4 separate regions of the Homo sapiens genome follow, and regions 1, 2 and 3 are each linked to region 4. Evidence: promoter capture Hi-C in human tissues and cell types (Jung and others, 2019). All regions are on one chromosome and are shown on one strand. The core of a region is centred on a gene start or on the middle of the fragment in contact, and the rest is flanking DNA. Distances in the headings are between cores, read along the strand shown. Region 1 overlaps INPP4A (inositol polyphosphate-4-phosphatase type I A). Region 2 holds the start of ZAP70 (zeta chain of T cell receptor associated protein kinase 70). Region 3 has its middle 8.4 kb from the start of INPP4A. Region 4 holds the start of TMEM131 (transmembrane protein 131).

The links. The method cuts DNA at HindIII sites, captures the fragments that hold promoters and counts their contacts. A contact is called where the count stands out against the background at its distance.
Region 1: a contact is called between a fragment that was not itself captured here and the fragment with the promoter of TMEM131 in region 4, in 1 of the 25 tissues and cell types used here (dorsolateral prefrontal cortex).
Region 2: a contact is called between the fragment with the promoter of ZAP70 here and the fragment with the promoter of TMEM131 in region 4, in 1 of the 25 tissues and cell types used here (adrenal gland).
Region 3: a fragment that was not itself captured here is called in contact with the fragment with the promoter of TMEM131 in region 4 in 2 of the 25 tissues and cell types used here (dorsolateral prefrontal cortex and pancreas).

Annotation. Positions count from the first base shown.
Region 1 is chr2:98,451,894-98,455,092 of GRCh38, reverse strand. The region is part of intron 1 of INPP4A (inositol polyphosphate-4-phosphatase type I A); the gene reads right to left. Among named protein-coding and RNA genes, the nearest start is that of INPP4A, 8.6 kb to the right of the region's middle. The HindIII fragment of the contact is 4,237 bases long and covers 1-3,199 here.
Region 2 is chr2:97,712,148-97,715,230 of GRCh38, reverse strand. It overlaps ZAP70 (zeta chain of T cell receptor associated protein kinase 70), which reads right to left and starts at 1,655. Exons shown (of 14, transcript NM_001079.4): 1 at 1,557-1,655; 2 at 1,237-1,315. RefSeq lists an enhancer at 874-1,847. The HindIII fragment of the contact is 22,881 bases long and covers 1-3,083 here.
Region 3 is chr2:98,435,034-98,437,884 of GRCh38, reverse strand. No RefSeq gene overlaps it. Among named protein-coding and RNA genes, the nearest start is that of INPP4A, 8.4 kb to the left of the region's middle. RefSeq lists enhancers at 787-1,530, 1,531-2,275, 1,317-2,516. The HindIII fragment of the contact is 5,831 bases long and covers 1-2,851 here.
Region 4 is chr2:97,994,547-97,997,775 of GRCh38, reverse strand. TMEM131 (transmembrane protein 131) reads left to right here and starts at 1,828. Exons shown (of 41, transcript NM_015348.2): 1 at 1,828-2,300. The coding sequence starts at 2,114. It overlaps LOC124905591 (a long non-coding RNA gene), which reads right to left and starts at 133. Exons shown (of 2, transcript XR_007087148.1): 1 at 1-133. RefSeq lists enhancers at 1,119-1,398, 1,569-2,082 and silencers at 1,619-1,868, 1,979-2,538. The HindIII fragment of the contact is 13,320 bases long and covers 1-3,229 here.

The sequences.
Region 1 (3,199 bases), core at 623-3,122, 460 kb before region 4:
TGCTGGGATCACTGGCCTGAGTCACCTTACTCAGCCTATCCTGACATTTCTTGGCACCTAGCCCTATTTTAAAACATTGGGTTCTGTCAAACATACCACTGTATTGCCATTTGAGTATCACCCAATTATGTAATGTGATCATTTAACATTTGTATACACAGAGCACGAAGAATGAATAAGAAATGTGAAAATACTCAACATTTCAGCTCATACAATCCTTAGTCCTTCCATTCTTTAAAAAAACAGTGTCAGTAAAAGGCTCAGTTGGGTCAGTGACCAGCTGACTAAGAGTTTACAGAGTGCAAGCCCTCCACTTCCTCCTCCCACCCCCCGCCCACATCCTTCTCCTCTCAACTTCGCTGGATGTCCCTGCCTCTCAGCACCTCCCTCTTCTGTGATATTTCCCCTGGAAGGTACCCTGAGCAGGAGTCAACAATAGGGTGTACTCCAGCCCTTTGAGCACATGTGAAAAATAAGAGTACTGTGGGGAAAACAGTTACCAAGACTGTCAAGTGGAGCAGGGGTCGAAACATTCATGTTTGCACCGGTCCAGTGCACTGCAGTTCACAGCCCTCTCCTATGTATATTATCAATCCCCACCACCCTCCTGTGAGCCTAGCACCTTCCCCATTTTACAGATGAGAAAGCTGACTTGGGTTCACATCCAGCACTACAATCCAACTTGCCCCTACCCCCAAAAAACAAACACAGACATGCCAAAGCCACTACTACATAAGCTTTGTGATACAAACCAGACTAGCGCCTGCATTAAATAATGGGGATCATAGCTGACTCTAAGCCAGCCTTGGGAACTGTCCTGACAGTGTTAAGGCACAGAGGATTCCAGCGGGGAGTCAAAAGCAGCAATGCTTTCACTGGGGCCAGCCCCAAACAAGGAGACTCTCTCTCTCTCTCTTATGTAGAAATATGCTGATCCACCTGTTAGGTAAAGGACCCATCTGGCATCCAGAGTTAAATTTTTTTTTGAGAGGGAGTTTTGCCCTGTCACCCAGGCTGGAGTGCAGTGATGTGATCTCGGCTCACTGCAACCTCCACCTCCTGGGTTCAAGCGATTCTCCTGCCTCAGCCTCCCAAGTAGCTGGGATTACAGGTGTGCACCACCACACCCAGCTAATTTTTGTATTTTTAGTAGAGACGGGTTTTCACTACGTTGGCCAGGATGGTCTTGAACCCCCGACCTCAGGTGATCAACACACTGCCTGCCACTGTCTCTCCTGTCTGTCAGTGTGGCTGTGCAGAGGACTCCTCATCAGGAGGATTTGGCTCAGATGGCTTACTACCACGAACAATACGCCAGAGCAGGACCAGGCTCAGGACTTTGTGCCTGCTCCTCACGCCCCCAGCTCCACTCCCACTGGCCCTCACCACTGAAAGTCTCCTCTGGTTTTAGGTCATTGGTTCTTGATCTATGGCGAGTCACAGACCACCAGGTTCTGACAAAAGTCACAGGTCGCACGCCCAGGAAAAGACCCCAAGTGTATACACATCCAGCGTAGGCCCCACCTTCCTACAGGTTAGGACCCCCTGCACTCAGCCCTAGGGTTTGACACATCTTTACCAAAATCCACTCTAAGAAACAGTCACACCATAACAACACCCCAAATACACTACATGTGAATAACTAGATGTTTTACCAAAAAATGCTTATCCTTCCCATAGGAAACGTACTTGGATATTTGCTATTTCAAAAAGCTTTTTAATGCCAGTTACAACCTCAAATTGATTTCATGAACCACTGCATTTTGAAACATGCTGTGTGGACCCTTCTCTAGCATGTTTCCTCCTCAGGTGCCCTTCCTTCCGCAATAATTAGTGCTAATGTGGTTAGAGCTCAGTGCAAGACTACTCCTAAACGTTATTTTTATGTATTAAGATGAATCTTTAAAGCTGAAAACCCAGAAATATCTCAACTCTTTAGTTTCAGGAAAAATTCGGAAAAGTGGGTCATTGTGATCTCACAAATTACACCGTGGAGGTGGCTATTTATTTCACCCAAACATCAAGTTGGAGTTGTACTTGCAAAAAAGGGGACATAACACAGGTAAAAATCACCACTGAAAGTAGTCACTTGGGCTGTCTCCAGGCCAATTCCCTAAATATTTCTCAAGCACCTACTAACTGCACTGCTCTTTTTTCCTAGCTGAGCAAGGAGTAGCAGCGTAGGCAACCCCTACACAAATGAACACACTTCAGGAATGGCTTCAGAAGGTGAGTCATAACAGCTCTTTGGGACTCTTCAGCACCAGCCAGGTAGACTCCATCCCTGCTAGGCCAGAGAGGGACCTGGAGCTGGAGTGTTACTGAGGTTGCTTCCTTTAGCACCGAGCTGTACAGGGAGAGTACAGGCCATGCTTGGAGGAGCTGGAGAAGCTTGAGGCAAGGGGGCTGAGAAACTTATATGGGTGGACAAGCTGGCGAATGGGGGGCAGGGGAAGGACTCCGGAGAGCAAAGCGGCCCCCAGGGCCGTAAACACTGGCTAGTTCACACTGTGGGCTGGCCACCCACCATCCTCTCTTCCTTCTTGCTATTCTAGGACCTAACCTCCTCCCCGGTCCTCAGGAAAAGTCAGCCCTGTCTCCAGCTGGGGAGTAGGGGAGTCTTGATTAAACTAAAAGAGCTGTTCTCCAATGTGACCTTGCATCAGAATCACCTGGAAGTCTTCTTAAAGCACAGCTTTCTGGGCCCCATCCCAGAGTTTCTGATTCAGTGGGTGGGGTAGGATCCACTAATCTCCAGTTCTAACAAGTTCTCAGGTAATGCTGATGCTACTGGTCTGAGGACCACACCTGGAGGACCACCAGCCTAAGCCAACCAGCACACAGCACTCTCACAGCCTCATGTTGCTGGTCCAGGGAAGGCCACGTGACCCTTTGCTCCACAGGCCAGAGGGAAGGACTGGTAGACACTGTGGCTGGGGAATCAGCTGCTTTGTCTCCTTCCCTGCTCCTGCTGGACAGGAACAAGGAAGCACGCAGTCCCACTGCCCCCAACGACCATCTCAGAATCATGAGGAGACTAACCCCCTAGGATGAAACCGGCAGTGATGGCTGGACAGAGGAGCAGAATCGAGGTCCTTGATGAAACTGCTGACATGCTGATGGAGACTCCAGTTCTCTGAGATAATAAATGTCACTGTTGGCAACCAAAAGCATCCCAACTGACACACCCCATAATCCA
Region 2 (3,083 bases), core at 406-2,905, 280 kb after region 4:
AAATTGGCTCTGATGAGAATGGCTGCCTTAACCCTGTACCTTGGGGTGGGGCAGGGAGTGGTCAGCACGGGGTGGTCTGGGTGCTGCAGCCCCGGAGAGCATACAGGAACTGTGGAGTCCAGAGCCCGAGGCCACCCAGAGCTAGTGAGGATAATGAGGGTTTTAGTGAGACCTTTCTGCAGCACCTGTATGTGCCGGGCAGTGTGGATACAGTCACTCTCTTTATCCTCCCGAGAGCCCTGGGAGGGAAGCACAGAGAGATGCGGTGACTGGTCCAGTCACACAGCTGGTGAGTGGCAGAGCCAGAATGTGAAGCCAGGCCCCCAGGCTCCAGAGTGTGCACATCAACACCACCCCCGCAACACTGCCAGGGCAGTGGGGCTGAGGATGGAGGGCAGGTGTGAAGAGGAAAAGGAAGCTCTGGATTCAGCAGGAGGCAGCTTCACAGGTGGCACCTTAGGAGTCCCTGACCCTGATCTCTCAGCAAGGCATTATTAAACACCTCCTGTCTGCCTACTGTTCCAACCAAGACGAGAGTAATGAATCATCTCGAGCTGCTCACCTCATGAACTCCTGTTCCTTCCTGTCGGGGATGCTTCCTACCTGGGACACATTTCCCAGCCTCTCGCCAACAGTCAGGAACCAGGCGCCTGCCAGGTGCCCATATCTGCATGTGCATTTAACAGATGCACAAACTGAGGTCAGAGAGGCCAAGCAACTTGCCGAGAACACACAGCAGTTGAGGAGAACTCGGTGTTTTGCTCTTTCTCTCTCCAGGTCTTCCTCTAACCTGAGCTCGCCTACAAGTGGCTCAAGCCTGCCCTGGACTCCTCACAGGAATCACAGCATTCTGCTGATGGAGCTCACGGCCCTGGTGAGCAGCCCCCTCATCTTCACAGAGTGCACATGCGCTTTCTCTGGAGGTTTCTCTGCCTCCGAGAGCCAAGGATGCAGCCAAACAGGGCCCAGCAGGAGCCCAGGGACTGAGCAGGCCTCACCGTGTCCCCTGAACAGCCCCGCTCGGCCAAGCCTCTGGAGGGGGAGCTGCTTCCCTCAGCGTGGCCACAAGCCCCGTCTGCCTCCATCTCCAGCCAGTCACCACCCAGCCCAGTCCTCCAGCTCTCCTGGTCCTCCCAGCAACCTCCTGACTCCCAGTTAATATTCTGTCTTCCTCCTCCAGACACAGCCCACCATGGAGACGGTGGCCAGGTGCCACTCCACCCAGGCACCACTTACCTGGGGACGTACAGGTGGATGTCCAGGCAAACAGGCCACTTGCGGGGTCTCTGGTCCCAATGCCAATGGAGAGCCGGTTCTGGGTGAGGAATCGGGGCTTACAAAGCCGGTTTGGATTTCCCTGCAGCCCAAGCCCCCAGCCTGAGAGGGAGGCCCTGCCGCTCACACTCTCCGCACACACCCCGGGGGAGGATGTCACACCCCGCCAGGGTTTCTCACTCATGGATGGGGGGGGTTCATCCTCTGCCAGGTCTCCCAGAGCCCCCTGGGGTGGCCCTGGTGGCAGGACACAGGCAGAAGGCCCGAGGACAGCCGCTTACCTGAATGCCCCAGCAGCAGCTCTGAGGCCCACGGTGGGCCAGGCCTGCCCGGAAGGCCTGGTGTCTGCTGAGCTCCGGCAAGCAGGCTTGTCTGAAACTAACCTATTTCCTGGATGCGAAGACAGGAAAGGGGGCTGTGTTTGATGTTTACATCAAAGTCACAAAGTGCTGTGCTCAAGGAAAATCACAGGCCACGTGCTCCAGGGAGGCAGAGGGCATTTCCGGGGCCCAGCACTGCCTGCCCAGCTGCAGGATGGGACTGAGAGATGGGAATGAGGCTAAGCAAAGGCAGGGTTTCAGGAAGGACGACTCCAGCAGCAGGAACCGTCAGAAGGGAGGAAGCCTGCATACCTGGAACCGGAGGGTAGGCAGCAGTGGTGGGAAGGAGGGGAGTCCCAGGGCTCATGGAAACTGGAATGCCCCCATTTTCCCCTCAAAGGGGCGTCGCCCTGGGGCCTGCACCAGCTAGACAACCCAGAGGAGTGATTTGTTTATTCCACAGGCAGGTTAGAGCTGGAGGGAGGAGAAACCCACTGAGTCAGCCCATACCCCGAAGGTGAGAACCCCTTCTGTGCCAGGCATCTGGATGGCAAGGACAGCCTGCCCTTGCTCTCCAGTGGCTCGCAGGCTTGTTGGGGGCAGCTGAGTCCACAGGGAGCCAGGGCTGGGAGGCCGGAAGCCTGGGCACTGTGTGTCCCCAGAGTATCCCCAAGCCAGCCTGGAGGATGTCAGGGATGCGTTCCAGGAGGAGTCAGCCACCCAACCGAGACACAGAGCCAGGGCATCCCCAGTGCTAGCCCGGCCCACCTGGGACCTTTCCCACGAAGCTGAACCTGGCTGAGTGCCATCCCGCTGTGGCCACCACCTCCTCCTCCTCTTCCTCTCCTCCCTTCCCTCACCCTGTGCACCCCCTACCCTTGGGCCTGGGGCCACACCTCATGCACTCTCTCAGAGAGGGGCCTGCAGAGCCACTCCCTCGGCTCCATCTCCCCTCTAGTGCCCCAAGGCCTCTGGGAGCCCCTTGCCCACCACCTCCTTGCTTTCTTGGGCACTAAGGGAGTCGTCACAGCTCTCCTGTCTGTGGGGCCTCAGAGACCTGTGTGGAACTGCCCTGGGCCCACTGTGGAGACTCCTAAAGCTTTTCTTCTTGGGGTCCTGCTGCCCTTGTTAAGTGGGCTTGTGATACCCTACCTTGTTTTAACCTGAATTGACTCTCCCTTAGCTAAGAGAGCCAGACAGACTCCATCTTGGCTCTTTCATTTGCAGCCCCTTACCCACCCCGCTTCCTCAAGGACTTAATTTGTGCAAGCTGACTCCCAGCACATCCAAGAATGCAATTAACTGATAAGATACTGTGGCAAGCTATATCCGCAGTTCCCAGGAATTCGCCCGGTTAATAGCACCCAGAGCCCCGGCGTTTGTGTCCGGTTGATAACGCCCAAAGCCCCGTGTCTATCACCTTGTGATAGATTTTAAGCCCCTGCACCTGGAACTGTTTGCTTTCCCGTAACCATTTATCCTTTTAAC
Region 3 (2,851 bases), core at 345-2,844, 440 kb before region 4:
CAAAGGTATACCACAGAAACAATAACCAACAGAATACTGAAGAAGTTATACTAATATAATACAAAACAAACTTAAAACAAAACAAAAATACTACTGACAAACAGAGACATTTTATAATTGTAACAAGTTTAAACTATGAGGAAGAGATAGTAATTATAGACATATATACATCCACAATAGAACCCGAGAATACATGTAGCAAAAACAGAATTGAAGTGAGAAGTGAACATTGTAATAGTAGTAATTGATTATTGCAGTACTCCACTTTAAGTAATGGATAAAATAATGAAGTAAATCTAAAAGGATATATAAAACATTAACAATACCATAAGCCAACTAGATTTAACAAAGTTGTAGAATATTCCACCCAACAATAACAGAACATACCTCATGTTCAACTGTACATGAAATATCCTCTAGGATAGATTATATGGTAGGACTTTTAAAAGCCTAAATAAATAAAAAAGAATTGAAGTCATACAAATTATGTTCTCTGAGCACAATGGAATTAAAACAGAAATCAACAACAGAAGGAAATTTGGGAAATTTACAAGTAAATGGAAATTAAACAACACAGTTCTCGGTAACCAAAGGGTCAAAGAAGAACTCAGAAGGGAAATTAGAAAATATTTTGAGAAAAATTAATGTGAAAACTCAACATACTGTTGCAGAGCATTGCTCCTTAGTTCCCCTAAACTCTGGTTCTTGTCACAAGACCAGGAAAATTTAGGCACACAGACGACACACTGAAGGGTGAGTAGAGCAGGATATTATTGGGCAAAAAAGGAAAAAAAAAAAAAACTCAGCAAAGCAAGACGCAGTCCTGCTAACAGGACTCACAGATTGAATCCCAGGCCACTACACAGGAAAGGAGAGGCCAGGCTCCTCCCCACTGCAAACGGCACAAACTTTCCCTGGCTCCACCCTGTTCTCCCAGTGTGCAGGCCCATGGGAGGTTCTCTGGGGACCTTCCCCCTTATCTGCCTCCTGCATCTATCATTTCCCCCTCTAAAGAAGTACATCTAACTGCTGTTAGAATAAGAATAAGGATCAGGACAAAGGCCGATCTTAACTGCTTCATGCTGACAGGAGGCACTGTTTGAGGAAAACGGCAGTCAGAGCTCCCTCAGAGGCCTATCTAAGGGTCCCTGGCAGAAGGGGCTGTGGTCCAAGGCTCCAGTTGCATGACCGTTTGGAGTTTCACGGCCTGAAGGCAAGAAAAGACAAACTGGGTTATTAGAAAACATATATCAGCCAGGTGCGGTGGCTCATGCCTGTAATCTCAGCACTTTGGGAGGCCAAAGTGGGCGGATCACTTGAGGCCAGGAGTTCAAGACCAGCCTGGCCAACATGGTGAAACCCTGTCTCTACTAAAAATACAAAAATTAGCCAGGTATGGTGGTGGGTGCTTATAATCCCAGCTACTCAGGAGGCTGAGGCAGGAGAATCTCTTGAACCCAGGAGGCAGAGGTTGCAGTGAGCCGAGATCACACCGCTGCACTCCAGCCTGGGCAACAGAACAAGCTTCTGTCTCAGAAAAAAAATTAAAAAGAAGAAGAAAAGAAAGAAAATGTGTATCAAAATGAAATAAGGGTGGGTATTGGGGGAATCTGCCTCCGATAATTCAACGAGGGTCCTTTTCTATTTTCCATAAGTGTCGGCCGGTCTGAGAAATAAAGGGAAAGAGTACAAAAGAGAGAAATTTTAAAGCTGGGTGTCCGGGGGAGACATCACATGTTGGCAGGTTCCGTGATGCCCCCTGAGCCGTAAAACCAGCAAGTTTTTATTAGCAATTTTCAAAAGGGAGGGTGTGTACGAATAGGGTGTGGGTCACAGAGATCACATGCTTCAAGGGTGACAAAAGATCACAAGGCAGAAGGTCAGGGTGAAACTAGAATCACTAATGAACTTCCATGTCCCACTGTGCATGCATTTTCAGGGTTCAAGAGCAGAAAACCGGTCTGACTGGAATTTGCCAGGCTGGAATTTCCTAATCCTAGCAAGCCTGGGCATGCTGCAGGAGACTAGGGTGTGTTTCATCCCTATCTGCATCTGCATAAGGCAGACACTCCTAGGGCAGCCATTGTAGAGGCCCCGCCCTGGGAATGCATTCTTTTCCCAGGGCTGTTAATTATTAATATTCCTTACTGGGGAAAGAATTCAGCGATATTTCTCTTACCCATTTTCAGTAATAAGAGAAATATGGCTCTGTCCTGCCCAGCCCACAGGCAGCCAGACTTTAAGATTATCTCCCTTGTTCCCTGAACATCACTGTTATCCTGTTCTTTTTTCAAGGTGCCCAGATTTCATATTTTTTAAACACACATGCTCTACAAATAATTTGTGCAGTTAACGCAATCATCACAGGGTCTTGAGGCGACATTCATCATCAGCTTATGAAGATGACGGGATTCAGAGATTAAAGTAAAGACAGGCATAGGAAATCACAAGAGTATTGATTGGGAAAGTGATAAATGTCCATGAAATCTTCACAATTTATGTTCTTCTGCCATGGCTTCAGCCGGTCCCTCCATTCGGGGTCCTTGACTTCCTGCAACAGCGGGGGTAAGGGCAGCTCAAAAATCCTGAGGCCTTTTACCAGTTTGCGCAGGGAGGAGACACCAAAAGTCTGACTGCTAAAAAAACTTATACTCTTTTGCCCCATATTAGACTTCTGGGTTCCCTTCCCCTGAGCCCAATCCTAAGCCAACCAGTCTAAGGTTTGGGAAATTAACTCTTCCCAGTTTGGAGGATGCATCTGAAGGGAGCGTCCCATAGTACAGAGATACAATTAACTATCAGTGAACAGGACAAAGGAGGAAAAAGGAGGCATTTTTTCAGAGAAGTCTCA
Region 4 (3,229 bases), core at 579-3,078:
TTATTCCTATTTCATTACATCAAAATAAAATTTGACTACTCAATTTTAAGGCTAATATTCAAAAAAGTAAAATTGCTTATGATTAATTTTTTGAGACGGAGTTTTGCTCTTGTCGAGGGTATAGTGCAGTGGCGCTATCTTGGCTCACTGCAACCTCCACCTGCCGGGTTCAAGCGTTTTTCCTGCCTCCGGAGTAGCTGGGATTACAGGCATGCACTACCACGCCCGGCTAATTTTTATATTTTTTAGTAGAGACGGGTTTTCACCATGTTGGCCAGGCTGGTCTCGAACTCCTGACCTCAGGTGATCCGCCCACCTTGGCCTACCAAAGTGCTGGGATTACAGGCGTGAGCCACTGCGCCCTGCCCTAAAATTGCTTTTTAAAATCATTAGGCTAAGGTCATATTTAAATATATATTAATTTATGAATAAATTTAAGTGCTTGCTTGACACAGGGGACTACTTCATAGAGTAGATTCTGGAGTTCCTTTTGTCTTTCTGAAACCTTATTTTCCTATCTAGCTTGTTCTGAGACGTACTGTGGGCAGACTTGGCCTTACACATATATCGACTCACTCAACAAATACAGCTAAGGAAAGTAAAATGTCTCTGGGCTACAAGCTGGGAGGAAGTTACTAAGATGAGTAAAGAAGGACCCCCTCCAAGAGCTTAAATTAAGTCTTGGAGACAACAGCCATGCGCACCAAGAAGCTCAACCTAAGATGAAAAGGGCATCTAAGAGGCGCGAGATGGCTCGTGAAGGTAACAGACGTCTTAAGAATTTTTCCGGGCCCAGCACAGTGGCTCACGCCTGTGATCCCAGCACTCTGGAAGGCCGAGGAAGGCGGACTGCTTGAGCCCAGGAGTTCGAGACCTGCTCGGCCAACATAGTGAGACAGCGTTTCTTAAAAGAAAAAGAAAAATTGGCGTGGCGTGGTGGCGGGTGCCTGTAGTCCCAGACCGCACCACTGCACTCCAGCCTGGGCGGCAGAACCAGACCCTGTCTCAAAAATAAATAAATAATTAAAAAATAAAGAAAAGAAAAAAAAGAATTCTTCCTCGAGAGAGGAAGCCGGCTACTGGATATTCTAAAGAGCAGTCTGTTTGCCCCTGCCTTCTCCATCCAGAGTCACCGACGCTTTCTGCACACGAGGTGTTCCGCGCCAATGTGGGCACAAGCCAAGGCAAGAGGACTCCATCAAGCTCCTCCTGGGTACCATGATTTGGAAGACCCAAGGATGAGTTCAGCGGGCCACCATCCTCAAGGAAGCACCATCAAGAACTGAGTCAGGCCCGGGGTATTCTCGACGTCAAAGCGGTCGAGAGGTGGGGGTGCCACCAGGAAGAGTCACTGGAACGGACCTTCCGCGCTCGTCTCGCGGTCTGTATGCGCACTCACACCCCTGGAAGGCTCTACCACTGTAGGACAGAGCACGGAGGATTGCCCAGGCGCCGGAGAAGAGGTTAGCGCCCCGCAACTCCGCCCCTGCCCCGCCCACGCAACGCGGCGGCTGCGCGGCGAGGCCGCCCCGTCTCCACGTGATTGCCGACACCGCCTCCGCGAAGCAGAAGCCGCCATCATAAGTCCTGGCAGCTGGACCTGGGCCTGCCTCCCTCCTTCTCCTGCGCCAGGTAGCGGTAACGGGCTGGGGTTGTTCTGTCCTGGTTCTGTCTGGCCGTGAAGCCGCAGGCCTCCGAGAGCGGGACGAGGAGGTGGGGCCCAGGGGGCTCCGGGGCGGACAGACTGACCGCCGGACAGCCCAGGTGTCGGCACAGCGTGGGCGGTGCCCAGAGCCGCGCCCCGCCCCTCGCAGGCCAGCGCTCAGGGCTCGCGGGCCGTGCCCGTTTCCAGTATGGCCGCCCGCCGCGCCTGACCCGCGGCCTCTCCGCTCCGACTGCTTGTAGGCGATGCCCAGGCAAAGACCGTGACTGACACTCTCGCTCACACGCACGCACGGACCCAGGCCCACGCTCGGAGATCGAGCCCCGGGCTCGCAACCGTTGTCGCTCCCGGCGCCGCGGCCAGAGCCCGGACCACGGCTTCCGCGCCGCCGCCGCCTCGCCGAGAAGGGCCGCGCCGGACCTCGAGCGCGGCGGCCCCCGGCCGGCAGGGATGGGGAAGCGGGCGGGAGGAGGAGCAACCGGAGCCACCACCGCCGCCGTCTCCACGTCCGCCGGGGCCGGGCTGGAACCTGCGGCCGCCCGTAGCGGGGGCCCGCGGAGCGCGGCCGCCGGCCTCCTAGGCGCGCTGCACCTGGTGATGACCCTCGTAGTGGCTGCGGCGCGGGCCGAGAAGGAAGGTGGGTGTCCCCCGGCGGCGTCCCTGCGGCGGGGCTGTCACCCCGCTCTCGCGGAGGCCGGGAGGGCTGGGCCGGGAGGAAGGGCCGCGGCCGGGGCTCCGGCGCAAAGTTGGGCGGTCGGGTACCGTCCCGAGCCGGGACCTCGCGGCGCCCGCCGCACGGAGTGGCCTTCGCTCTCCGTGATTCCTTCCCGTGCCTTCCCCCGTCTCCTGTCACTGCCATTTCAAAACTTCCTGACTTCTCGTACGTTCTTGCCACTTGGCCCGCTAGGTAGGAGGGGCATATTTTTTGGCTTTATTGCGGCGAATAGGTACATTTTAGGACACTTCTGTTTTCTTGGTTGCGGTTGGTTGCATGCAGACAGAGCTTACTTTAAAATGTGGTAAAAATAGCGAGACACAGCTTAAAAAATTTCACTTTGAATTTGTTCAGACATTTCTTCGAGGGGAAATCTTGGTCCTGTAGCTTCCTCCTTTAGTGTCTCTGCGTTATTGATAACTTTATTATTAGACCTAAATACAATTCCATTTAACTCTTTAGTAAGCTGTTGAAAGCCTGTTTACATTTCTTATTTTAAAATACGTGATTCGGTGCCTTTATCTTTGATGTGAAAGCCTTTAAAAATAAACGTGAAGTTGCCAGCTTGCAAGCATTTATCTATAATTTACAGTTAAGGGCTGGCCCCTATTTTAAAAATCTCATTAGTATTGTACTGCTGCAAAACGGGTACTTGGACAGGGTCAAAAATTATTTTGTAATCTTGAAGACCAAATCAGTGTAATTTCATCTACACTACCTCTTTTTGAGCCAAGGGACATGTGAATGGTCACAGAGCCTTCATGAAGAATTGACTAAGTGAATAGTTTAAAAAAAAAACAAACCACGCAAAACTTGTTAGTTTAGCATTGCACATGAAACTGCCTGTACAA